6 separate regions of the Homo sapiens genome follow, and all the other regions are linked to region 1. The links are contacts of gene promoters, found by promoter capture Hi-C in human tissues and cell types (Jung and others, 2019). All regions are on one chromosome and are shown on one strand. The core of a region is centred on a gene start or on the middle of the fragment in contact, and the rest is flanking DNA. Distances in the headings are between cores, read along the strand shown.

The links. Contacts are between HindIII fragments. The study calls those that stand out against the background at their distance.
Region 2: a fragment that was not itself captured here is called in contact with the fragment with the promoter of ZNF34 in region 1 in 2 of the 25 tissues and cell types used here (H1 embryonic stem cells and dorsolateral prefrontal cortex).
Region 3: a contact is called between a fragment that was not itself captured here and the fragment with the promoter of ZNF34 in region 1, in 2 of the 25 tissues and cell types used here (lymphoblastoid cells and spleen).
Region 4: a contact is called between a fragment that was not itself captured here and the fragment with the promoter of ZNF34 in region 1, in 2 of the 25 tissues and cell types used here (dorsolateral prefrontal cortex and mesendoderm cells).
Region 5: a contact is called between a fragment that was not itself captured here and the fragment with the promoter of ZNF34 in region 1, in 4 of the 25 tissues and cell types used here (IMR-90 fibroblasts, bladder, dorsolateral prefrontal cortex and 1 more).
Region 6: a fragment that was not itself captured here is called in contact with the fragment with the promoter of ZNF34 in region 1 in 2 of the 25 tissues and cell types used here (dorsolateral prefrontal cortex and spleen).

The regions. Positions count from the first base shown.
Region 1 is chr8:144,785,278-144,789,088 of GRCh38, reverse strand. ZNF34 (zinc finger protein 34) reads left to right here and starts at 1,772. Exons shown (of 6, transcript NM_001286769.2): 1 at 1,772-1,810. It also overlaps the pseudogene RN7SL395P. RefSeq lists enhancers at 1,204-1,263, 1,304-1,533 and a silencer at 1,684-2,043. The HindIII fragment of the contact is 13,629 bases long and covers 1-3,811 here.
Region 2 is chr8:144,564,142-144,567,952 of GRCh38, reverse strand. The region is part of intron 3 of ARHGAP39 (Rho GTPase activating protein 39); the gene reads left to right. Among named protein-coding and RNA genes, the nearest start is that of C8orf82, 37 kb to the right of the region's middle. The HindIII fragment of the contact is 3,546 bases long and covers 1-3,387 here.
Region 3 is chr8:144,597,535-144,601,345 of GRCh38, reverse strand. The region is part of intron 2 of ARHGAP39 (Rho GTPase activating protein 39); the gene reads left to right. Among named protein-coding and RNA genes, the nearest start is that of C8orf82, 70 kb to the right of the region's middle. The HindIII fragment of the contact is 8,983 bases long and covers 1-3,811 here.
Region 4 is chr8:144,971,058-144,974,868 of GRCh38, reverse strand. It overlaps the pseudogene ZNF252P. Among named protein-coding and RNA genes, the nearest start is that of ZNF16, 22 kb to the right of the region's middle. The HindIII fragment of the contact is 3,961 bases long and covers 1-3,575 here.
Region 5 is chr8:144,634,160-144,637,970 of GRCh38, reverse strand. The region is part of intron 1 of ARHGAP39 (Rho GTPase activating protein 39); the gene reads left to right. Among named protein-coding and RNA genes, the nearest start is that of ARHGAP39, 50 kb to the left of the region's middle. The HindIII fragment of the contact is 4,920 bases long and covers 1-3,811 here.
Region 6 is chr8:144,921,214-144,925,024 of GRCh38, reverse strand. No RefSeq gene overlaps it. Among named protein-coding and RNA genes, the nearest start is that of ZNF250, 22 kb to the right of the region's middle. The HindIII fragment of the contact is 8,062 bases long and covers 1-3,811 here.

The DNA of each region.
Region 1 (3,811 bases), core at 523-3,022:
GGTGGGGCCTCATGCCTTTCCTCATTTTCTAGCCTGATAGTGACAGGTGAGGTTGAGGGTGGTGATTGAGTGTGGGGTCCCAGGTCACTGCTGGGATTGCTGAACAAAGGGATGAATGCATGCAGTGTGTGTATGGGGAATCCCAGACCACCCAAGTCCCTTCACCCACCCACCCAGAGCCCTACACTGGACTGGAGCTGGCACCAGCAGTAGGTTGGTCTGCTCCTTGAGTCCTGTAACTCCACAGCTTCGCAGGGCATGTAGCCCCCTCTTCCCTGGGGCAGAGAAACTAACCAGGAACAGCCCCCAAAGCTGCATTGATTACCTTAAAGCACATGGCCTTTCCCTGCTGGCAGGGGCTGATACTTTGGTTCTCTCTAGCTTTGGTAGTGATGAGGCTGACAGTGATGATTGAGTGGAATCAGGTTGGAAGTGTTGGGGAACCCCCCCTGCAATGGGAGGGCAAGTAAGCTGGTTTCCGTCACAAGGCAGAGTGGAGGGGCTTCCTGTTTGGCCATAGCCCATGGCATCTTGTCCCTTAACCATGATCCAATGAGGAGATCCCAGGACAGCATCCTATCAGCACTTTCACACGAGGAAGTTCCACCAGCGAATGCAGCAGCTGCAGATCACTGCCCCTAACAACACTCCTGTGGAACTGCAGCAGGCAGGATGAGGCACGGTCTCTCCCTATAGACTTGGTTGGAGGGTGCCTGGCAGGTGAGAATAGTCACCTTAGGCTTCCGTGGTCACTCCGGGATGACAAGTCCTAACTGGCTGCGCGGTGGTTCCTGGCTGTCATGGTCCACGCTGTCTCTAGAGAACCTTACCCCCCATTTCGTGATCTTGCTTTCCTGATCCTGCTGGTATGGCCCCACCTGTCTTTGGGCGCCCACCACACCTAGGCAGTGACCCAGCAGGGCCTGTTTATTTTAGACAGGCTCTCGCTATTGCCAGGCTGGTCTCAAGCCCCTGGCCTCATGTGGTCCTCCCACTCCAGCCCCGCCTCCCCGCCAGTAACTACGGGACCTGGTTTTGATCTCGTCATTCGCAGGGCCGGTCCCAGGGTCCCAGCTGACTTGTCGAGAAAGAATCCAGGAGGGCGGTGTTTCCTCCTGAAGGATGGAGGGGCATCTGGAAAGAGGGTTTTGGGAAAGCACTAGATGCTTAGCTTGGCCATAAGCGGTCACTGTTTTTCTGCTCCCTTCTGGGCAAAGTGGACGGCAGGGCTTGGCCGATGGACCGGCCATGAGGGAAAGTTTGTTCCAGAAGCAGCTCAGGCACCCGAAAAACCCTTTCTCCAGAGTGGACACTGGGCCCCATTTACAGGAGTTAAGGATGAGGAGCAATAGGTTAAACCCAAGACAGGCTTCTTTGGCCAGTAAGCATCCTTTCTTGGCCCTAAGGAAGGGTGCGGTTCCCGTTTCTCTGTAAATCGAAGGGCCTAGTTCTTGTTTGCGGCGCCTTTCGTGCATCATTAGGGAGAGAATTTCTCAGAAAAAGGGAAAGACTAATATGTTTTCGCCTCTGACCATCGCCCCAGTTCTGAGGCCTCTGGGCCGTGGCTTCGGACTGCCACCCGGTGGCAGCATTCCCGCTTTACGGCTTTGCCATTCGCGGGTCCCCGGAGCCTTACTGCAAGCCAGGGAGGTGGGCAGCCGACACGCGGCGTCCTAGCTTCCCAGAGCGGCCCGGACGGCGCCTCGGACCCAGACAGTCGGCTGACGTCACTTCCGGATCGGTTCCGATTGGCGGGGAGGGAGGGCCGAACGGGCGAGGTTGGGCTGCCGTGCTGCTCGGCGGCGCTGAGGTGAGTGTGAGCCCGGCGGGGGCGGGCGCGCGGGGCGCAGACCCTCCCGGCGCAGACCCTCCCCTGCGCGTTGCCCCTGTGCCCGGTCCTCTCGCGGTGCTGCAGGCGTGGGTCCGTCCCGCCATCAGCGGCACTTCCTGTTCGAGGGACCCCCCGGACAAGGCCCCGAGTACGGACTGCGCCTCGCCGCTCTCTGCCAGCCCTGGGGTCGCTCCTCACGGGGCTCCTTCCGCTCTCGAGCCCCTGACAACTCCCTTGCCCCACGCGGGGTCCCCTGGACTCCTGCCGCACAGAGCGGCTTCTGCGTCCCGATGCGCTCCAGACCCCTTGGTCCCAGCGGCCCGAGGCTTCCCATCCCGGCTCCCTCCCACGCTCCTCTCCTGTCAGCTTTTCAGGGGCGGGGCTCGTGCGTCTCGCGGTCCTCCCAGCCCTCTGCGAATGCCGCCCCTCCTGCCTTTAGCGTCCGCGCTCCGCCAGTGCTCCTCCCTCTGCTTGTGCCTTCCCTCCGCCCCACCCTCCTCGCTTCTGGCGCTCCAAGGCTTTTCTCCCCGCAGCCAGGCAGCCAGATTTTTGTTTCTCTTCTTTATTTTTTCTTTCTTTTCTTTTCTCTTCTCTTCCTTCTTTCCTTTCTCTCTCTCTTTTTCTGAGACGGAGTCTCGCTCTGTCGCCCAGGCTGGAGTACGATGGCGCGATCTCGGCTCAATGCACCTTCCGCCTCCCGAGTTCAAGGGATTCTCCTGTCTCAGCCTCCCGAATACCTGGGATTACAGGCGCCCGCCACCATGCCCAGCTAATTTTTGTATTTTTAGTAGAGATGGGGTTTAACCATGTTGGCCAGGCTGGTCTCGAACTCCTGACCTCAAGTGATCTGCCCGCCCCAGCCTCCCAGAGTGCTGGGAATACAGGCGTGAGCCACTGCGCCCGGCCTCGTTTTCTTATATCTCTACAAACCTAATACTGTTTTTGTCTCTTAAAAATCTACATATGTATGGCAGAGCACGGTGGCTCACGCCTGCAATCCCAGCACTTTGGGAGGCCAAGGCGCGGGGGGGATCACTAGGTCTGGAGATCGAGACCATCCTGGCTAACCCAGTGAAACCCCGTCTCTACTAAAAAATACAAAAAAATTAGCCGGGCGTGGTAGCGGGCGCCTGTAGTCCCAGCTACTTGGGAGGCTGAGGCAGGAGAATGACGTCAACTCGGGAGGCGGAGCTTGCAGTGAGCCAAGATCCCGCCACTGCTCTCCAGCCTGGGTGATGGAGCAAGACTCCGTCTCAAAAAAAAAAAAAAAAAAAAAAACTACCTATGTATTATACTGTGTATATTCTGTACCTGACAGTTTTTCTCAGCCTTATAACTGTGCTCTATCTCCTTGACATTACTTTCCACCACTCTGACTTTGCTGATGGACGCTGAAGTTTTTTCTTCTTCTACACAGGCACATGGTAACATTTTTGTGTTTCTTTTTGTGTGCATTAGCAAGAGTCTCCATAAAGTACATACTTCGAGTGGGGTTTCCCCACTGAGAGTTTTGCAGGGTTTCAGTTCTACCAGGTAGGGCCAGACATATTTCTAGAGTGTCTACCAGTTTACAGTGTTCTGAACATTTGGTATTATGAAGTATTTTATATTTCCCCAATCTGTGGGGAGAGTCTTGTTTTACTTTACATTTTTTCTTAATTAAAAAATTAGAGATGGGGTTCTCACTATGTTGCTCAGGCTAGAGTGCAGTGGCCACTCGCAGGCGTGATCCCACTACTGATCAGCACAGGAGTTTTGACCTGCCCTGTTTCCCACCTGAGCTGATTCACCCTTCCTTAGGCAATATGGTGGTCTCCTGCTCCCCGGATGTCACCATATTGATGCCGAACTTAGTGGGGACACCCAATTGGCACAGCAGCACTACAGCCCAGAACTCCTAGATTCAAGTGATCCTCCTGCCTCAGCCTTCTGAGTAGCTGGGACTACAGGGTTTGCCAGGTCATATCCTGTGTTCATTTA
Region 2 (3,811 bases), core at 365-2,864, 220 kb after region 1:
GGGGACCACTACCACCAAGACATGGAGACCGGTAGTGGCCCTGAATGCCAGGCTGCGCTGATATTTATTGGATACAAGACAAAGGGGCAGGATAAGGAGAGTGAGCCATCTCCAATGATAGGTAAAGCCACGTGGGTCACATGTCCACTGGCCAGGGGGCCCTTCCCTGCCTGGCAGCCGAGGCAGAGAGAGAGGAGAGAGAGAGAGAAACAACTTACGCCATTATTTCTGCATATCAGAGACTTTTAGTACTTTCACTAATTTTCTACTGCTATCTAGAAGGCAGAGCCAGGTGTACAGGATGGAACATGAAGGTGGACTAGGAACGTGACCACTGAAGCACAGCATCACAGGGAGATGGTTAGGCCTCTGGATAACTGCAGGCGAGCCTGACTGATGTCAGGCCCTCCACAAGAGGTGGAGGAGTAGAGTCTTCTCTAAACTCCCCCCGGGAAAGGGAGACTCCCTTTCCTGGTCCGCTAAGTAGCGGGTGTTTTCCCTTGATACTGACGCTACTGCTAGACCACGGTCCGCTTGGCAACGGGTGTCTTCCCAGACGCTGGCGTTACCGCTAGACCAAGGAGCCCTCTGGTGGCCCTGTCTGGGCATAACAGAAGGCTCGCACTCTTGTCTTCTGGTCACTCCTCACTATGTCCCCTCAGTTCCTATCTCTGTATGGCCTGGTTTTTCCTAGGTTATGATTGTAGAGCAAGGATTATTATAATATTGGAATAAAGAGTAATTGCTACAAACTATTGATCAATGATATTCATATATAATCATATCTAAGATCTATATCTGGTATAACTATTCTTATTTTATATATTTTATCATACTGGAACAGCTCGTGCCTTCAGTCTCTTGCCTCAGCACCTGGGTGGCTTGCCGCCCACATCAGCCACCACACCTGGCCTCATTTTCATTTTTGAAAGCTACTTTTGCTGGGTGTAGGTTAAGATTTATTCCTTTTTGCCACTTCATTGTCTTCTGGCTTGCATCATTTCTAACAAGAAATCAGCTGTCATTCTTTGTATTTCTTTACATAATGTGTCTTTTAACTCTAGCTCCTTTATTTCTTTTTTTTTTTTTTCTTTTTTTGAGATGGAGTCTCACTATGTCACCTAGGCTGGAGCGCAGTGGCACGATCTCGGCTCACTGCAACCTCCACCTCCTGGCTTCCAGCAATTCTCCTGCCCCAGTCTCCCAAGTATCTGGGATTACAGGCGCACACCACCATGCCCAGCTAATTTTGTATTTTTAGTAGAGCCGGCGTTTCACCATGTTGGCCAGGCTGGCCTCGAACTCCTGACCTCAAGTGATCTGCCCACCTTGGCCTCCCAAAGTGCCGGGATTACAGGCATGAGCTACCATACCCAGCCAATTTCATTCTATTTTTTTGAGGCAGGGTCTGGCTCTTTCACCCAGGCTGGAGTGGAATGGCGTGATCTCTGCTCATTGCACACTTTGCCTCCCAATCTCAAACTGTCCTCCCACCTCAGCACCTGGGACCACAGGTGCACACCACCACACCCAGCTTATTTTTGTATTTTTGGTAGAGATGGGGTTTTACCATGTTGCCCAGGGTGGTCTCAAACTCTTGGACTCAAGCGATCCACCTGCCTCGGCCCCCAAAGCACTGGATTTGCAGGAGTGAGCCACCACACCTGGCTCTAGCTCCTTTATTTTCTCTATTTTGCTCATTTTAAGCAATTTGATTAAGATAGGGGTTTATGTCATTTTCTTCGTGTTCCTTGTGCTGGGGTTCGTGTAGCTTCTTGGACCTCTCAGTTTATGGTCTTCATCACGTTTGAGAAATTTTCAGTCATTTTTTCTCCCAAAACAAAACTTTTTTTGTTGTTGAGACAGGGTCTCGCTCTGTAGCCCAGGCTGAAGTGCAATGGCGCAATCACAGATGATGGCGGCGTCAACCTCCTGGGCTCAAGCGATCCTCCCACCTCTGCTTCCTGAGTAGCTGGGACCACAAGCTTGCTGACTTCCGTACCCAGCCTTTTTTTTTTTTTTTTGTAGAGTTGGGGTCTCTCTGTTTTTCCCAGGCTGGTCTCAAACTCCTGGGCTCAAGCGATCCTCCCGCCTCAGCCTCCCGTAGTGCGACAAGTGTGAGCCACTGTGCCTGGCCTTTTCTTTAGACTGTGTTTGTGCTCACACCCCCACCCAGCACTGCAGTTATGTGTCAGGTCACTTGAAGTCATCCTGCAGCTCTCTGACTCTGTGGGATAATTTCCATTTTCTTTTCTTTTGTTTTTTAAGATGGAATCTCGCTCTGTCACCCAGGCTGGAGTGCAGTGGTGCAATCTCAGCTCACTGCACCTCTACCTCCTGGGTTCAAGCAATTCTCCTGCCTCAGCCTCCCGAGTGGCTGGGACTACAGACACCTGCCACCGCGCCTGGCTAATTTTTGTATTTTTAGTAGAGACGGGGTTTCGCCACATTGCCCAGTCTGGCCTTGAACTCCTGACCTCAAGTGATCCACCCGCCTTGACCTCCCACCATGCTGGAATTACGGGCATGAACCACTGCACTCAGTCCCACTTTCTCTTTTTTCTTTATTTTTCCTCTGTTTTTTGTAGCTTTAATTTTGGATCATTTCTGTTGTTGTGCTTTCAAATTCACGAAGCGTTTTTTCTTTCTAGTGGTGGGTTTGGTTTGGTTTGGTTTTGAGGCAAGGCCTTGCCGTTGCCCAGGCTGGAGTGCAGTGATGCAGGCTCGGCTCACTGCAGCCTCAACCTCCTGGCCCAGACAGTCCTCTCAGCCTCCCAAGTAGCTGAGACAACAGGCACACATTACCACACCTAGCTAATTTATATGTATATAATTTTTTTTTTGAGATGGAATTCACTCTTGTTGCCCAGGCTGGAGTGCAATGGCGCAATCTCGGCTCACGGCAACCTCTGCCTCCCGGGTTCAAGCGAGTCTCCTGTCTCAGCCTCCCGAGTAGCTAGGATTACATGCACATGCTTCCACGCCTGGCTAATTTTTGTGTGTTTTAGGAGAGACAGGGCTTCATCATATTGGTCAGGTTGGTCTCGAACTCCTGACCTCAGATGACTCGCCCCCATCTTGGCCTCCCAAAGTGCTGGGATTACAGGCTGAGTCACCATGCCTGGCCTTTTTTTTTTTTTTTAGAGATCTCACTATGTTGCCCAGGCTGGTCTCAGACTCCTGGCCTCAAGTGGTCCTCCTGCCTCAGCCTCTCAAAGTGCTAGGATTATAGGCGTGAGTCTCCATGCCCAGCCCCAGTGTATTTTTCCTCTCAGACATCATAATGCTTATCTCTAGAACTTTGATTGGGTTCTTTTTTGTATATTCTACGTCTCTACTTAACATGTTCAGTCATTTCTCTAGCTTTTTGAACATATGGAATACAACTTTAGTAACTGTTAATGTCTTTCTCAACTACTTTCATTTGTGTCAGTTTGGGGTTAGGTTCAACTGGTTGAGTTTTCTTGTAATAGTTCCCTTTTTTTCCCCTTCTCCAAGTTATTGGTAGAGATTCAGTGCATTCTGAGGAGCAAGAACTTCCATCTTGTGAGCAAAAGTTGTTGATATATGAGGGGAAGCCATCCCAGCAGGGGAAGCACCAAGTGGCACGTCCCGAGACGGAAGAGCATTTGGTGTGCTCAGGGGACAACGGGGGCCAGTGCTGCTGCTCAGAGAAACCAAAAGGAGTTGGCATTCCTGACTATCAGAACCAATTGCAGATGTTCATCTCTTGTTATTTGTGATGACATTTTACATGCTTCATCTGCAAAAATGTCTTTTTACACAGAGAGCTACTGCCAAATACTGGTGT
Region 3 (3,811 bases), core at 699-3,198, 190 kb after region 1:
GTACACGAGCACACACACGCCTCCACACACACACACAGGTACATGAGCACGCACGCATGCCTCCATGCACACACACAGGTTCACGAGCACACACGCCTCCATGCACACAGGTACATGAGCTTGCACACGCACCTCCACGCACATGCACACAGGTACACGAGCTTGCACGCACGCCTCCATGCACACACACAGGTACACGAGCACACATGCACGCCTCCATGCACACACAGGTACATGAGGTCACACACACCTCCACGCACATGCACACAGGTACACGAGCTCGCACGCACGCCTCCATGTGCACACACAGGTACACGAGCACACGCCTCCACGCACACACACAGGTACATGAGCTCGCACACACACCTCCACGCACATGCACACAGGTATACGAGCACACACATGCCTCCACACACACACAGGTACATGAGCTTGCACACACCACGCACACGCACAGGTACACGAGCACGCACGCACGCTTCCATGCACACACACAGGTACACGAGCACACACACGCCTCCACGCACACACACGCGCAGGTAGGTAGATGAGCTCACGCGCATGCCTCCATGCACACGCAGGTAGGTACACAAGTGCGCACGCACGCCTTGAACACGCACACTCAGGTACACAAGTGCACACGCACGTCTCCACGCACACGCACACGCAGGTACACAAGTGTGCACGCACACCTCCATGCACACGCAGGTAGGTACCCAAGTGCGCACGCACGCCTCCACGAACACGCACACTCAGGTATACAAGTGCACATGCACGCCTCCACGCACACGCACACTCAGGTACACAAGTGCACACGCACGCCTCCACGCACACGCAGGTAGGTACCCAAGTGTGCACACACGCCTCGATGCACACGCAGGTAGGTACCCAAGTGCACATGCACGCCTCCACGAACACGCACACTCAGGTACACAAGTGCACACACACGCCTCCACACACGCAGGTAGGTACCCAAGTGTGCACGCATGCCTCCACGCACATGCACACTCAGGTACACAAGTGCACACGCACGCCTCCATGCACACGCACACGCAGGTGGGTACAGGAGCACACAGACACCCCCACGCACACGCACACGCAGGTAGGTACACGAGCTTGCACACATGCCCCCCACACACACGCACACGCAGGTAGGTACACAAGTGCGCACACACGCCTCCACGCACACACACAGGTAGGTACATGAGCTCGCACACTCGTCTCTACGCACACATAGGTACACAAGTGCGCACACATGCCTCCATGCACACGCACACAGGTACATGAACATGCATGCATGCCTCCACGCGCACAAACGCCTCCTAGAAATGCTGAGCACACACGGTGCCCCAGTCCCGTCCCTCCCACAGAGAGTTGCTCTGTGGTCCCCTCTTCCATCACATCTCTTCTTCCCTGGCTCCCAAGAACACCAGTGTGTTTACTCACTTGCTCATCTGATAATTCATCTAAAATTGGTTCAGAATTGCTTCACCCATTCCACTACAAAAATATATGCACTAAAAAAAGCCAGGGTTCATTTGCATTCCCTCATGTGCACGTGTCTCCCAGGAATGCGACACTGGCTCATCCTGTGTTCCTAAGTTGTTTGGATTAGCTCTTTCTCTTTTCTTCATTATGGTTCTGGCATCCGTTGGTTCATTACTTTCAGTTAGAGATTTTTTTGTCCCCCTTTTTATTCTTCCTGATATAATTTTGTCTTTTAAACATATAGACCATTCGCACGTTCCCAAAGCCCCAACCGTACACAGGCACATTCAGCCAGGCCTCTTCCCCGTGCCCTTTCTGCACCTGCCTACCTGCTGCAGGCAGAAACTCTCTTGTTTTCTGTTTATCTCCTGGGTTTCTATTGTGAAGAATAAACAGATGTTAGTATGTTTTCTTATTTCCCCTTCATTCTTACACTAATGGTATCATGATTTATGTGTTCTTTGCACAATTTGCTTTTTCCACTTAAAACATCCCCTAGACATCACTGCCTCCCAGACCATCGAGATTGTCGTCCTTTTTCAAAGCTTCCTGGGCCTCTATTGTGTGTGTGCCTCAGTCTTGTGTTGGCCATATGGGTAATTTCGCATATTCTGCAATTACAAGGACTGCTGCAGTCTGCTTGTATAATTCTGGGTTTTGGGAGGTGCATCTGCAGGTGAATTTCTGACGAGGGACTGCTAGGTCCAAGGATGCCTTTGGATGTGCTGTCCTTGGGGCTTCTGTGAGCAGCACCAACCCCGGGCCATCGGGGCCGTCAACAGCTGCCTGCTGTCAGATGTGTGGGCAGGTGCCTGGGGTCTCCATGCAGCCTGGGCTTTGGGGCTCTGATGATCACTGAAGTAGTTACCCTCCGTGTATTACTGTTCACTTTGTGAATTGCATGCTCTTATCTTTTGCTCTTTTTCTATAGTATTTTTTATCTTTTCATGCTCAAATTTATATATTAAAGACATGAGCTCTTATTGTAAATGTTCCACTAAATGTGTCTGAAAAGCCAAAATCTGTTTTATTTGTAGTGGCTTTTGCATGTGAAAGGTTTTGAATCTTTGTGTAGTCAGGTTGGCCATCCTTTCTTCAGTGCCTCTGTGTTTTAGTCACCTCCATCCAGGTGACTGGAGAAAGAGCACGTGGCACCTGCTCATGGGCTGACATACTTTTGTTTTTGCCTTTGGGTCTCAGATCCGCCTTGGTTCTTGTGTGTGGTGTGAGGTGTGATCTGACCTGTTTGTTTTCCACATGCATCCGGCTGTCCCCGTGCCATTTGTTAGAGGCTGAGGCTGCCTGTGCTCTGTGAGGGGCACTGTGCCTTCTCTCATGCCCCGGGCTCTGTAAGGAGCTGGGGCTGCTTCTGCCCGTCTGTCTGGTCCTGCTGGCCTCCTGTCCTGTGCCCAGCCACACCTGACTCATCGAGAGTCTCTTCTGCTCCTTCCCAGCCTCCCTGGGGCTCATGTGTCCTCATGTGGCACCTTGGTATCCCTCCACTGACACCCACAGCTGAGTTCCGAGTTTCCCCTTTACACACAACGTGGAAAAGCCCACGGCTGGGTTCCGAGTTTCCCCTTTACACGCAACGTGGAAAGGCCCACGGCTGGGTTCCGAGTTTCCCCTTTACACTCAACGCGGAAAGGCCCACGGCTGGGTTCCGAATTTCCCCTTTACACGCAATGCGGAAAGGGCCCCGCAGGTGTCCAGCCTTCGAGGCCATGCCGGGCGCCCTCTGGACTTCCCCGGGCTGCTCCTTCCCCACCACGGAGCTCCTACTCTGGCCGGACTCTCCTTCCCTGCTGGCGGGTGGGTCTGCGTGGCTTCCTACCTGGTGGGTTTGAGCATCTCCGTGTGTTCTTAGCCCTCAGGTTTCCACCTCTGGGAATCTCCTCCGGCCTTTTCTTCCATTTAATCATCTTTTTTAGCCTTTGTGGTGTGGACGCATCCCTGTCTGTTCCGGGTACCGTTGCATGTTGACTGAGCCTGGATTATGGTCTCCATCTGTGCTCACGCCTTTGTGTCAGTGCTGGTGGCTTTTGATGAGCCAACGTGTTGAGCTCCAGCGTTCTCTGTCCACCTGCCTTTTCTCTTCCTGTCTTACTCAGGAAGCCCTTTCCTAACTGAGCTCCTGAAATTCTTCACGTATTTTCTTCTAAAAGTCTTAAAGTTTTGCCTTTCCCATTTGATCAGACTTTTTCATATCAACCCAAGTCAGCAATCCCGGCCCCATTGATTACAGTCTTGACCCCCTGATCCTGGGTTCCCCCCGCCCCCTGCCCCCATCCTCAAGGGCGTCGCGTAGATCTGCAAGGGGCAG
Region 4 (3,811 bases), core at 346-2,845, 190 kb before region 1:
TCCAGCATGGCCACAAAGCAAGACTCCAAAAAATATATATATATATGACAAAAGGGTTAGGAAGCTTTTCCTCTGAGGCCCACGATTACACAACCAAATCAGAAAATAATATTTTTTTTGTTTTAAACCTGTTTACATAAGATGGAGGTGTTTACTTAACTAAGAACCTCGGTATTTACTCAAATCCGGTTTTGGGTTTTATGGCTAAAACATTTCTCCAGATTAACCTTATCAGTTTGGAATATGTTTTTATTTTCCATTAAATATTTCATCCAAATCATACTGAATTTTATTTATCATGGCTTTTAATGTTCTCTATTCAAGTCAAATTTCTGTTTCCTAATTACTTGGCTTGGTGATGGCATTAATATTGGTTGGGAGCTAGATGGTCTCTGCTCTATTTGATGATTGGCATAGAGCAATCATACACTTGGTACTTCCTAGCATTTTTTTTTGAGACAGTATCATGCTGTATCATGTTGCACAGGGTGGAGTGCAGTGGTGCAGTCATAGCTCACTGTAACCTTGAACTCCTGGGCTCAAGTGATTCCCCTGCCTCAACTTCATGAGTAGCAGGGACTACAGCTGTGTACCACCACACCGGCCTCTCCTGGCTTCTTAACCACTTACATTAAAATTGAGAGGAGAAAGGCATTTTCAGTTTCTTTAGTTAATAAAAAGAAGCCATTTCTGGAGGAGTTTTATGCCTGTACCAGCAGAGGTTCAGCCTTCCAGGAATCTCATCATGATCCATACTGCTGACACAGGCCTTTGTCACCTGAAGCATTCTTAAAATAAGGAGACTGACATTAAACAGGACAATTGTGAACTCCACTTTGTAAGCATCATACATATCTTACAACTCATTCTGAAGACTCCTTTATTCTTGCTCTTCCCAGAGAGCTACTGTGTTTAGTCATGCTCACTGCACTCACAAGAGAAAAAGAGTAAGTGGCATATTTGCAGGTGTTGATGGTTACAAGAGCATTTTTACTTTTTCCTCCATGTTTGTTCTGCAGCATTTCCATTGATGCATGCTATTGTAGACTTCTTAGGTTGACCTTGGCCTTGACCTCCACCACTAGCTCATGACCCAAAACTGAAGATGTGCATCAGAAAGGGACAGATTTGGTCTTTCTGCTGTAAAAGATATTCTGCCTTAGTGCCTGCTAATTTGTTGTGCATAGTCCTGTGCTGCCAATCTTCCCCACCAATTGTTAAGGTTAATGTGTGTTTTATATGTGTATTCACAAACATTAAAATGTAATCAGTGGATTCCATTATTGCCCATTTTCATGTAAGGTGGGAGGCACTTTGTATGGTTGGGAATCTGTAAGATCTTTAGGACTAAAACTCCTGCCTCTAATCCCAATTTATGAGGCCCTGACTCTCCAGGCAGCATGACTTAGTTGGATTTTTCTCTGCCACGAAACCTGCCAAGGCTTCTTCATCACCCAAAACCCTCCCATGACCAACCTGTATGAAAAGAGGGGCAAAGGTCATTATTAATCACAGACATGCAAAATGATATTACAAGATGTCATTTTACCCTCACTAGGTTGGCAAAAATTAAAGATCTGACAGAGAATGACACCAAATATATTTAGCAACAGTTACTCTCATACGCGGCTGATAGGAGTGGAAATTGGTATGACACATTGGAAAATATTTTGGCATTATTAATACAGTTAAAAATTAGCCCTGGCCAGATGCACTGGCTCACACCTGTAATCCCAGCACTTTGGGAGGCCAAGGCAGGTGGATCACCTGAGGTCAGGAGTTTGAGGCCAGCCTGGCCAACACGGCAAAACCCTGTCTCTACTAAAATAATTAGCCAGGTGGTGTGGTGGGAGCCTGTAATCCCAGCTACTCAGGAGGCTGAGGCAGGAGAATCGCTTGAACCTGGGAGGCGGGGGTTATAGTGAGCTGAGATCGCGCCCCTGCACTCCAGCCTGGGCGACAAAGCGAGACTTCGTCTCAAAAAAAAAATTATGTAACCCACAACCCAGTTCCACTCCTGCACATACATGTTGGGGATGTACTTGCATGAGAACTAGAAGATGTGTCCCAAAATGTTTAATAGCAGCTGTTCCTGTAATAGCAACAAAAAAAAAAAAAGAAAAAAAAACAAGTCCAGTGTTCATGGAGAGGGGGAGAAAAGAAGTTTGATTGTAAGTATAATATAGCAGAAAACTACGTCAAAATCAATTACCTGCAGCTACACACATTATTCTTAAAGCTGTCACTTTGCAGGGGAGTGTGGATTGTTCCCAATATCGACCAACTTTGATTGCTTCCTGTAGTGAAACTCCAGGAGACCTGGGAAATGAGGGAAAAGTGTGACCTGAGAGAGAGAGTGCCAAATAATTGGAAGATTTTTCCAGCTTACTGTTGGCAGAAGTGTGGGTGATATGAAAGGGAGCAGATTCTAAGGCTGTTCAACTAGAGATAATGTAATGTTGGATTGGACTGGGTTTGTTATATGAGTGCACACATGGCAGGCTGTGGATTCACTGTGCTAGTTGCAGTAGCAGCTTGTTAATGGAAGTCTATATTTGGTCATGGCCTCCATTGAGTGAGGCTGACATGCAGAATTGCCTGATTTTACAACAGAGAATGGATTCAAAGGTTCAGGAGGTGCAAGAGGGCACTCCTTTCACCCAGGCTTAGAGAAGTGCATTGATGAGGGAATAGTAACGTCCAGGAAAGACTCTGTAGTGGCTGTTTTATATAGTCTATCAAAGGAAGTAGGAGAGACTGTTATGAAAATGGATTTAGGCTGGGCGCAGTGGCTCACATCTGTAATCCCAGCACTTTAGAGGCCAAGGCAGGTGGATCACTTGAAGTCAGGAGTTTGAAACCAGCCTGGACAACATGGTGAAATGCCGTCTGTACTAAAAATACAAAAATTAGCCAGGCAGGGTGGCAGGTGCATGTAAATCCCAGCTACTCGGGAGGCTGAGGCAGGAGAATCACTTGAACCTGGGAGATGGAGGCTGTAGTCAACCAAGATCACGCCACTGCACACCAGCCTGGGTGACAGAGCAAGACTCCCCTCAAAAAAAAAAAAAAAAGAGGAAGGGAGGGAGGGGGAGAGAGAGAGAAGGAAGAAAGAAAAAGGAAAGGGAAGGAAGGAAGAAAGGGGAAAGGAAAGAGAGGAAGGAAAGAAAAAGGAAAGAAAAGAGAAGGAAAGAAAGAAGAGAAAGAAAAGAGGATTTAACTCAGTGGGAATGGTCAGGACCAGATGGCAGCATGTAACCCTGTCATAGACAGGGAAGTTGTCACTGTAACAGGCCCAGGGCCACAACAGTAATGAGAATGGTTTGACCATAGAGGTTTTGACCCTGAGTAATGATGATGGTGACTATGGACTGAAATAGGTAGACCGCCCACTAAAGTCTTTATCAGTATCAGTGAGTCATTAAGCCTTTACAGACACCTGACTTGGATCAGCACAACAGTCATCGACCTTCACTTACTTCCTAGGCTTGAGCCAGTTCAGACCTAGAACCTCATGAAACAAGAGGAGGCTAGATTTCCCTTGAAAGGTCTTGCTACACTTTCCAAATTTTATGCTATAAATCTTATCCCCTTTGCCAAAGGGAATGTGGACATTTACCAGGGTAACTATATATCAGAGGACAAGAATACCCACTTTTTTAAGGATAAGGAAGTAACATCTTGGATGGAGAAAGAAAAATCTGTTAAGCTATTAATCAGACTGGAATAACAGATAAAACCAGCTGTAAAGTTAATAAGAAACTATTTCTGCCAGAGATATATGAGCTGTAGAATGTCATAAAATTTCACC
Region 5 (3,811 bases), core at 782-3,281, 150 kb after region 1:
GTTATCGCAGCACTTTGAGAGGCTGAGGAAGGAGGATTACTTGAGGCCAGGAGTTCAAGACCAGCCTAAGCAACATAGCAAGACCCCTCTCTAAAAAAAAAAAAAAGAAAGAAAAATATCCATGTGTGGGTGGCACACACCTATGGTCCCAGCTACTCAGGAGGGTCACTTGAGCCCAGGAGTTTGAGGTTGCTGTGAGGCATGATGGTGCCACTGCACTCCAGCCTGGGCAACCGAGCAAGACCGTCTAAAAAAAAAAGAGAGAGAGAGAGATGCAAAAAGAAATGGTTAGCAAAACGTAAACACATCTCTAAGTCTATAAACATTGCATGAAATAATTGTTTTTTGTTTGTTTGTTTTTTGAGACAGAGTCTCGCTCTGTTGCCAGGCTGAAGTGCAGTGGCGTGACCTTGGCTCACTGCAACCTCTGCCTCCCGGGTTGAAGCGATTTTCCTGCCTCAACCTCCTGAGTAGCTGGGATTACAGGCACCCGCCACCATGCCCAGCTAATTTTTGTATTTTTAGTAGAGACCGGGTTTCACCATGTTGGCCAGGATAATCTCAATCTCTTGACCTCATGATCCGCTCACCTCAGCCTCCCAAAGTGCTGGGATTACAGGCGTGAGCCACTGCGCCCAGCAATGAAATAATCTTTGTAGGGTTCAAAAGAAAAAAAAGACTAAACAGAAGCATGGGTTGCAAGATAAAGTTGAGAATCTCTCAGAAAATAGAGCAAAAATTTGGAGTTGGAGAATAGGAGAAAAGAATATTCAAGGACCAGTCTAGAGAGTCCAGTACCTGGATAGTAAAAGTTTTAGGAATGAGATGGAAGAAACATCAATGAGAGAAAGTCACTGAACAAAATGTCCCAGAGTCCACCAGACACCCACACACTGTGTGAAAACAGACTGGTACAAAGACACAAAGACACGGCGTCTGGAAATCCTAGACCCTGAGAACAGATTGAAGATTCGGAAAGCTTCCAGAAAGACACAGATTGCATTCCAGGATTGAGGGTCAGAATAACTTTGGACTTCTTAATAGCAGTTCTGGAGTTTGGAAGTCTGTGAAGCAGTAAGTTCAAAATTCTGATGGAAAGTGATTTCCTTTGTAGTATTCTTTACCCTTTGAAACTATCAAAGGCCTCAGGCATCTTTTTTCTGGAAGTGACTGAAATGTTCCTTACCAAAACAAGGTGGTAAATGGAGGGTGCTGAGCCTGGGGTGCGGGAGTGTCACCCCGGCGATGCTCCAAGGCTGGGAACCACCTTGGTCCTTTAAACATGTACAAGGCTAGTTTGGTTAAAGATGCAAGTGTGCAGAGCTAGCAGATGTCATGCATACTTTATCCTGCAGAAGTGAAAATGGGGTTTGGTAATGCTGTGTCTGTGTTAGCATCTGCTCTGATGTACCAGGCGTCCCGCCCTCCTGGGCATCTTCACATCGCCTGCATCGCAGGGAGGATTGGGGCTGTCGGGAGCTTGGCCTGGTGTGTAGGGTTCCTGCAGACCCCATAGTTTCTTCCTTTTGTCATCTTTTCTGTTCCTTCTGTACTCCTCCCCCTAGTCCCTCAGTAAAAACAAAACAAACTAACCCAGGCAGTTCAATTGTGAGTTTACATTTTCCTACCCCTTTCCCACTCTTAATTGCTAATCCTCCACTAACATTAGCTGAGTATTGAGTTTTAAGAAGTTTTTCTTCTGCACTCACCCCGTAAGAATCAACACAGAAGAATTATCTACCTGTGGTCACCAAGAAGGGTTTCTCCATACCAGCCACAAATCAGTCCCACAGCAGACACCAGCTGGGTGTCCTCTAAGTCGGTCCCCACACTGTCTTACCTGGCAGGAGATTCAGCCCCCCTCTAATTCAGTCCTCACACTGTCTGCCTGGTGGTAGCCTCAGATCCCACCGGGTAAGTGCTCAGCCCCCTCTAATTCAGTCCCCACACTGTCTACCTGGCGGTAGCCTCAGCCCCCCTCTAATTCAGTCCCCACACTGTCTACCTGGCGGTAGCCTCAGCCCCCCTCTAATTCAGTCCCCACACTGTCTACCTGGCGGTAGCCTCAGCCCCCCTCTAATTCAGTCCCCACACTGTCTACCTGGCGGTAGCCTCAGCCCCCCTCTAATTCAGTCCCCACACTGTCTACCTGGCGGTAGCCTCAGATCCTACTGGGTGAGTGTTCAGCCACCCTGTAAGTCAGTCCTCACACTGTCTACCTGGCGGTAGCCTCAGCCCCCCTCTAATTCAGTCTCCACACTGTCTACCTAGCGGGAGACTCAGATCCCACCGGGTAAGCGCTCAGCTCCCCAAGACCACCCCCACTTCCAGTGCCCATCACAAGCCCAGGGATAATTCACCCGAGCTCTGACCAACCAGGTACAAATCGGGGTTCCCACACCCCCTCCTTGGGTCTGACTGATTTTCAAGAGTGACTCATAGAATTTTGGGAAGCTTACATTGATGTTTATCATGGAGGATATTACAAAGGATACAGATGAAGAGAAGCGTAGGGTGAGGTGTGGGGAAAGGGCCTGGAACTTCCATGCCCTCCCTAGGTGCACTGTTCTCCAGAAACCTCCCCCCATGTGTTCAGCTCTCTGGAAGCTTCTTGAACGCTGTCCTTTTGGGGTTTTATGGAAGCGTCATTACATAGGCATGATTGCTTAAACCGTTGGTGACCAACTTAACCTTCAGCCTCTTTCGCCTCCCCCCATGGGGAGTGCAGCTGAAAATTCCACCCCTCTAATCGTGCGTTGGTCTTTCTGGTGACCTACCCCATCCTCAAGCCACCTAGGGGCTGCAGCCCTGAGTCAACTCACTAATGTACAAAACAACATAACCATGGAGATTCTAAGCATTTTAGGAGCTGCGTGCCAGGGTGGGATGAAGACCAAGCACACATTTTACAGTATCACCAGAATCCTTTGTGGGAACACCTAGATTAGGGATTCGAGAATGTTTCCCTGAGAAGTGAATGTGTGAGCTTAGTCCTGAAGGAGAGACAGAAGTTACCCAAGGCCAGAATGTGCAGGGAAGTGTTCCAGACAGGAGTGGAGACTACACCCGCACAGGGCCTGGAGTTCCCGGGAGCCGAGTGGAGACTGCGCCTGCAGAGGCCTGGAGTTCCAGACAGGAGTGGAGACTGCGCCTGCAGAGGCCTGGAGTTCCAGACAGGAGTGGAGACTGCGCCTGCAGAGGCCTGGAGTTCCAGACAGGAGTGGAGACTGCGCCTGCAGAGGCCTGGAGTTCCAGACAGGAGTGGAGACTGCGCCTGCAGAGGCCTGGAGTTCCAGACAGGAGTGGAGACTGCGCCTGCAGAGGCCTGGAGTTCCAGACAGGAGTGGAGACTGCGCCTGCAGAGGCCTGGAGTTCCAGACAGGAGTGGAGACTGCGCCTGCAGAGGCCTGGAGTTCCAGACAGGAGTGGAGACTGCGCCTGCAGAGGCCTGGAGTTCCAGACAGGAGTGGAGACTGCGCCTGCAGAGGCCTGGAGTTCCAGACAGGAGTGGAGACTGCGCCTGCAGAGGCCTGGAGTTCCAGACAGGAGTGGAGACTGCGCCTGCAGAGGCCTGGAGTTCCAGACAGGAGTGGAGACTGCGCCTGCAGAGGCCTGGAGTTCCAGACAGGAGTGGAGACTGCGCCTGCAGAGGCCTGGAGTTCCAGACAGGAGTGGAGACTGCGCCTGCAGAGGCCTGGAGTTCCAGACAGGAGTGGAGACTGCGCCTGCAGAGGCCTGGAGTTCCAGACAGGAGTGGAGACTGCGCCTGCAGAGGCCTGGAGTTCCAGACAGGAGTGGAGACTGCGCCTGC
Region 6 (3,811 bases), core at 381-2,880, 140 kb before region 1:
GCAAAGTCCTCAGTTGCAAATGGGGAGGGAGAGGTTGTGAGAAATTTGAAGAGAGAAGAAAGTGTGGAAGTGTCGACTTGAAGATGGGAAGGTCGGTCCCACAGGCTTGAGCCTGTGCTCACCTCAGAGGCCGGCACTCCACCCACAAGGTGTTGGCTGCCCACACACCCCACCCCAGGTCTCACCGTCACCTCCACTACAGCGCCCTTTCCCAAGGCAACACCCAGAATTTCAACAGCAGCATGGCCCTGTTACCCTCCTAACTCGCCTGCCCAGTCTTTCAACATCATGCTGGCCAATCTGCTGACATGTGCCTCATCAGTCAGGCTCCTCTCTGGCCTCATGTTTCTCCCTTTCTAGCCTGGATTTGATTACTCATTGTTCCAGTAAACACTTGTTGAATGCTTTCTATCTGCCAGGCATGAGGCGCCAAGGTGCAAGGATACAACAGGAACAAGAGAGGCATAAGTGTCTGCCTTGTGGAGTTTAGGTGCCAGTGGGAAGAGAAAATGACCTGATGGTGATGATTGCTGGAAAGCAACACTAAAGCAGGGAGGGATTGGGGTCCATGTGGGGTCCAGGAGGGGTTTGGTTTTAAATGGGGACAATCAGGGAAGGTCTCACTGAGATGACATTTGAGCAGTGATGCAAAGCACGTGAGAGAGTGTCAAGTGAAAATAAAAGGATATTCACGTATCAGGCAGAGAGAATAGTTAATGGGACACCAGGCCTGAGACCTGGAGTGTTTCAGGGCAGCATGGCTAGGAGTAGAGTGAGCAAAGGAGAGAGGTGCTGGGGTGTGTCATGAAGGTCTGTGGCCATGACAAAGACTGGCTTTTACTGTGTGTGAGATGGGGAGATCCTGGAGGGTTCTGAGCAGAGGAGGATGACCTGACTTGCATCTGAATATGATCACTGCTGTGTGGAGAAGAGACTGTGCATTCCTGACTGTGTTTGCTCCCTTCTAACTCCGTTTCTTCCCGTGAGTCCGCCCTTCCCCTCACCTCAATGCCACTGGGAGACAGCCACCAGGACACCCACTGCAGCTGAGGCACAGGGTAGTGGCCACACTGATGGATGCAGTGGACTGTGCAGGGGCCACAGGAAGGTGCTGCCTAGGACAAGTAAATGACCAGCTCCTCCTGGTCTCTGGTGCTGCCCAGCATCCAGCCAGATTTGACACATGTTGGGGTGCTTCATCCAAAGCCTAGGGAATTTTAATTTCAGTACGTCGTCACGTTTCCAAAGAGAAATAGTCTTGAAATTTCTGTGAATCACAAATTTGTTTCTTCCTTTTGACCTTGGTGATGTCCTCAGCAATGTGTTTCTCAGGGAACAAATACCAAGTCCATATGATGGAGAAAGCCTAGGTCATACATTTACTGACTCCATGAGCCTGAGATGTCTCTGTTTAGTGGGGGCTGGGGCATGAGGAAGATGATAGGAAAGCTCTTTTTTTTTTTTTTTTTTTTTTTTTTTTGAGATGGAGTCTCACTCTGTTGCCCAGGCTGCAGTGCAGTGGTGCGATCTCCACTCACTGCAAGCTCTGCCTCCCGGGTTCATGCCATTCTCCTGCCTCAGCCTCCCAAGAAACTGAGACTACAGGCACCTGCCACCATGCCTGGCTAATTTTTTGTATTTTCAGTAGAGACGGGGTTTCACCGTGTTAGCCAGGATGGTCTCGATCTCCTGACCTTGTGATCCGCCCACCTCGGCCTCCCAAAGTGCTGGGATTGCAGGGGTGAGCACCTGGCCTTTCTTTTTTAAAATAAAAATCTTAGTAGACTAATTATTTTTCTCAAAAGACCCTTAATTATTTAGATAAGTACTTAATATCATAATTACTTACCAAATACTGGGCTTTCATGATCATGAAACAGAGAAATTGGAGAGAGGAGAAGAGAAACAAAAAAGGAGGGGAGGGTGGAGAGAAGAGACACTCATTCCATCTGCTGGGACTGACAGTCTGAGTATTGACCCCCAAACCTTCCACCGTAAAAGGTCCTTCCCTTTCTCCCAGCAGCGGCCATGTGGCCCCTGCCATGCACTCATTGCCCTAGCTGCTGCATGTGTCTCAGAATGGTATTCGTAAAATGGCTTGAAACTGCCCCTATAAACTTTATCAAATTAATCTGGGAAGAAGAGGGGGGGAAATGAAAATAAACAAAGCTTGCAGCACATTCAGCATTCATCATTAGGTCAGCTACTCCCTGACATGCCTCCACATAGTCATTTGGTGCCGACGGCCTAGAATCACACAGGCCCTAGATTATAGTTCCCTTGAACTGCTCTGTAGATAACAACTTGAACATCATGAAATGTTAAGTTTTCCCTTTGAGATACGCCTTCAGATCCTGCATACTTTTAAGACCACTGACTGAGCTGGTCGGAAAGATGCCACAAGGAGCTGACCACACCAAAGAATGCAGTTTCCACGTCCTGATGATGTCATCCCCTTTGCCCTGGCCAATCAACTACCCCCATTTTCCAGCCCCTCGCCCTCCATGATCCCCTTAAAAACCCCAGATGGATTTGAGGGTCTCCTCCCATCTCCTTACTTGGTGCCCTGCAATAATTAAACTCTCTGCTGCATCCCTGCTGTCTCAGTGTCATTGGGCTGTTACTGTGCAGCCAGCATACAAACCTGTTGGTCCTATAACAGGCTTAATCAGTGAACAAGTGACAACTGGTGCCCACCCCCACCCCTGCCCACTCTGGTGCTGCCAATCCTCAGCTGTCATGTGTGATCCCTTCTCACCTCATGCAGGGGCTGGGGCCTACCCAGGACTGCAGCACTGAGGTGGTGTCATCACATGCTGTACAGAAGCCCTTGAAAGGGTTGTGGCCCAGATTTCAAATGTGACTTGCCCAATTTAATTTTTTTTAATTTTAAAATCAACATAATTCTAGAAAATGCAGATTTGAAAAAGGGAAAATATGTATCACATGTATTTCCACCACTTAATACGTTCCCTAGGGACAACACTTCCAAACTGAGATTTAATGTCTGTTAAGCTCTCTCTAGGACCATTTTTGGCAGGAGCATGAAAGAATCCTTAGCAAGTTTAGATGGACAGAAAAATACACATGAGCAAGGAGGAAGGATTACACATTGTATCCAGAGATATACCCTTTATACTGTATGGAGGAAGGATTACACATTGTATCCAGAGATATACCCTTTATACTGTATGGAGGAAGGATTATACATTGTATCCAGAGATATACCCTTTATACTGTATGGAGGAAGGATTACACATTGTATCCAGAGATATACCCTTTATACTGTATGGAGGAAGGATTACACATTGTATCCAGAGATATACCCTTTATACTGTATGGAGGAAGGATTACACATTGTATCCAGAGATATACCCTTTATACTGTATGGAGGAAGGATTACACATTGTGATTCTACTGTAGGAAAACAGCCTGTTGCACAGCAGGAGTGGTGTCATCTTCAAGCAAAATCACCATAATGGCCAATGGTTGACTCCTGCACCAAGGTCTTTACACAATGCCTGTAGCATAGATAACCCCTCAAAGATGCTTACCTAACTTCTCCAGCAGTCATGAATTTTGCAAGAAAGTCTGAGATGTGACAGCTGTACATGTTTTACCAAAAAAGCTTTCTCTATAAACAATACTTTCTGGAGGACAGGTGTGGGGATCCACTATCTCCAAGCCTCCTGAAACCACTTCTGTTTGCAAATTCCTATTAAATGTTTATTTTCTGAGGAACTGGATTTGTCAGCCTCTTTCTTCAGCCTCTCAGCTTTTGGGGGTAGGTTTGCATAGACCTGCTTACCAT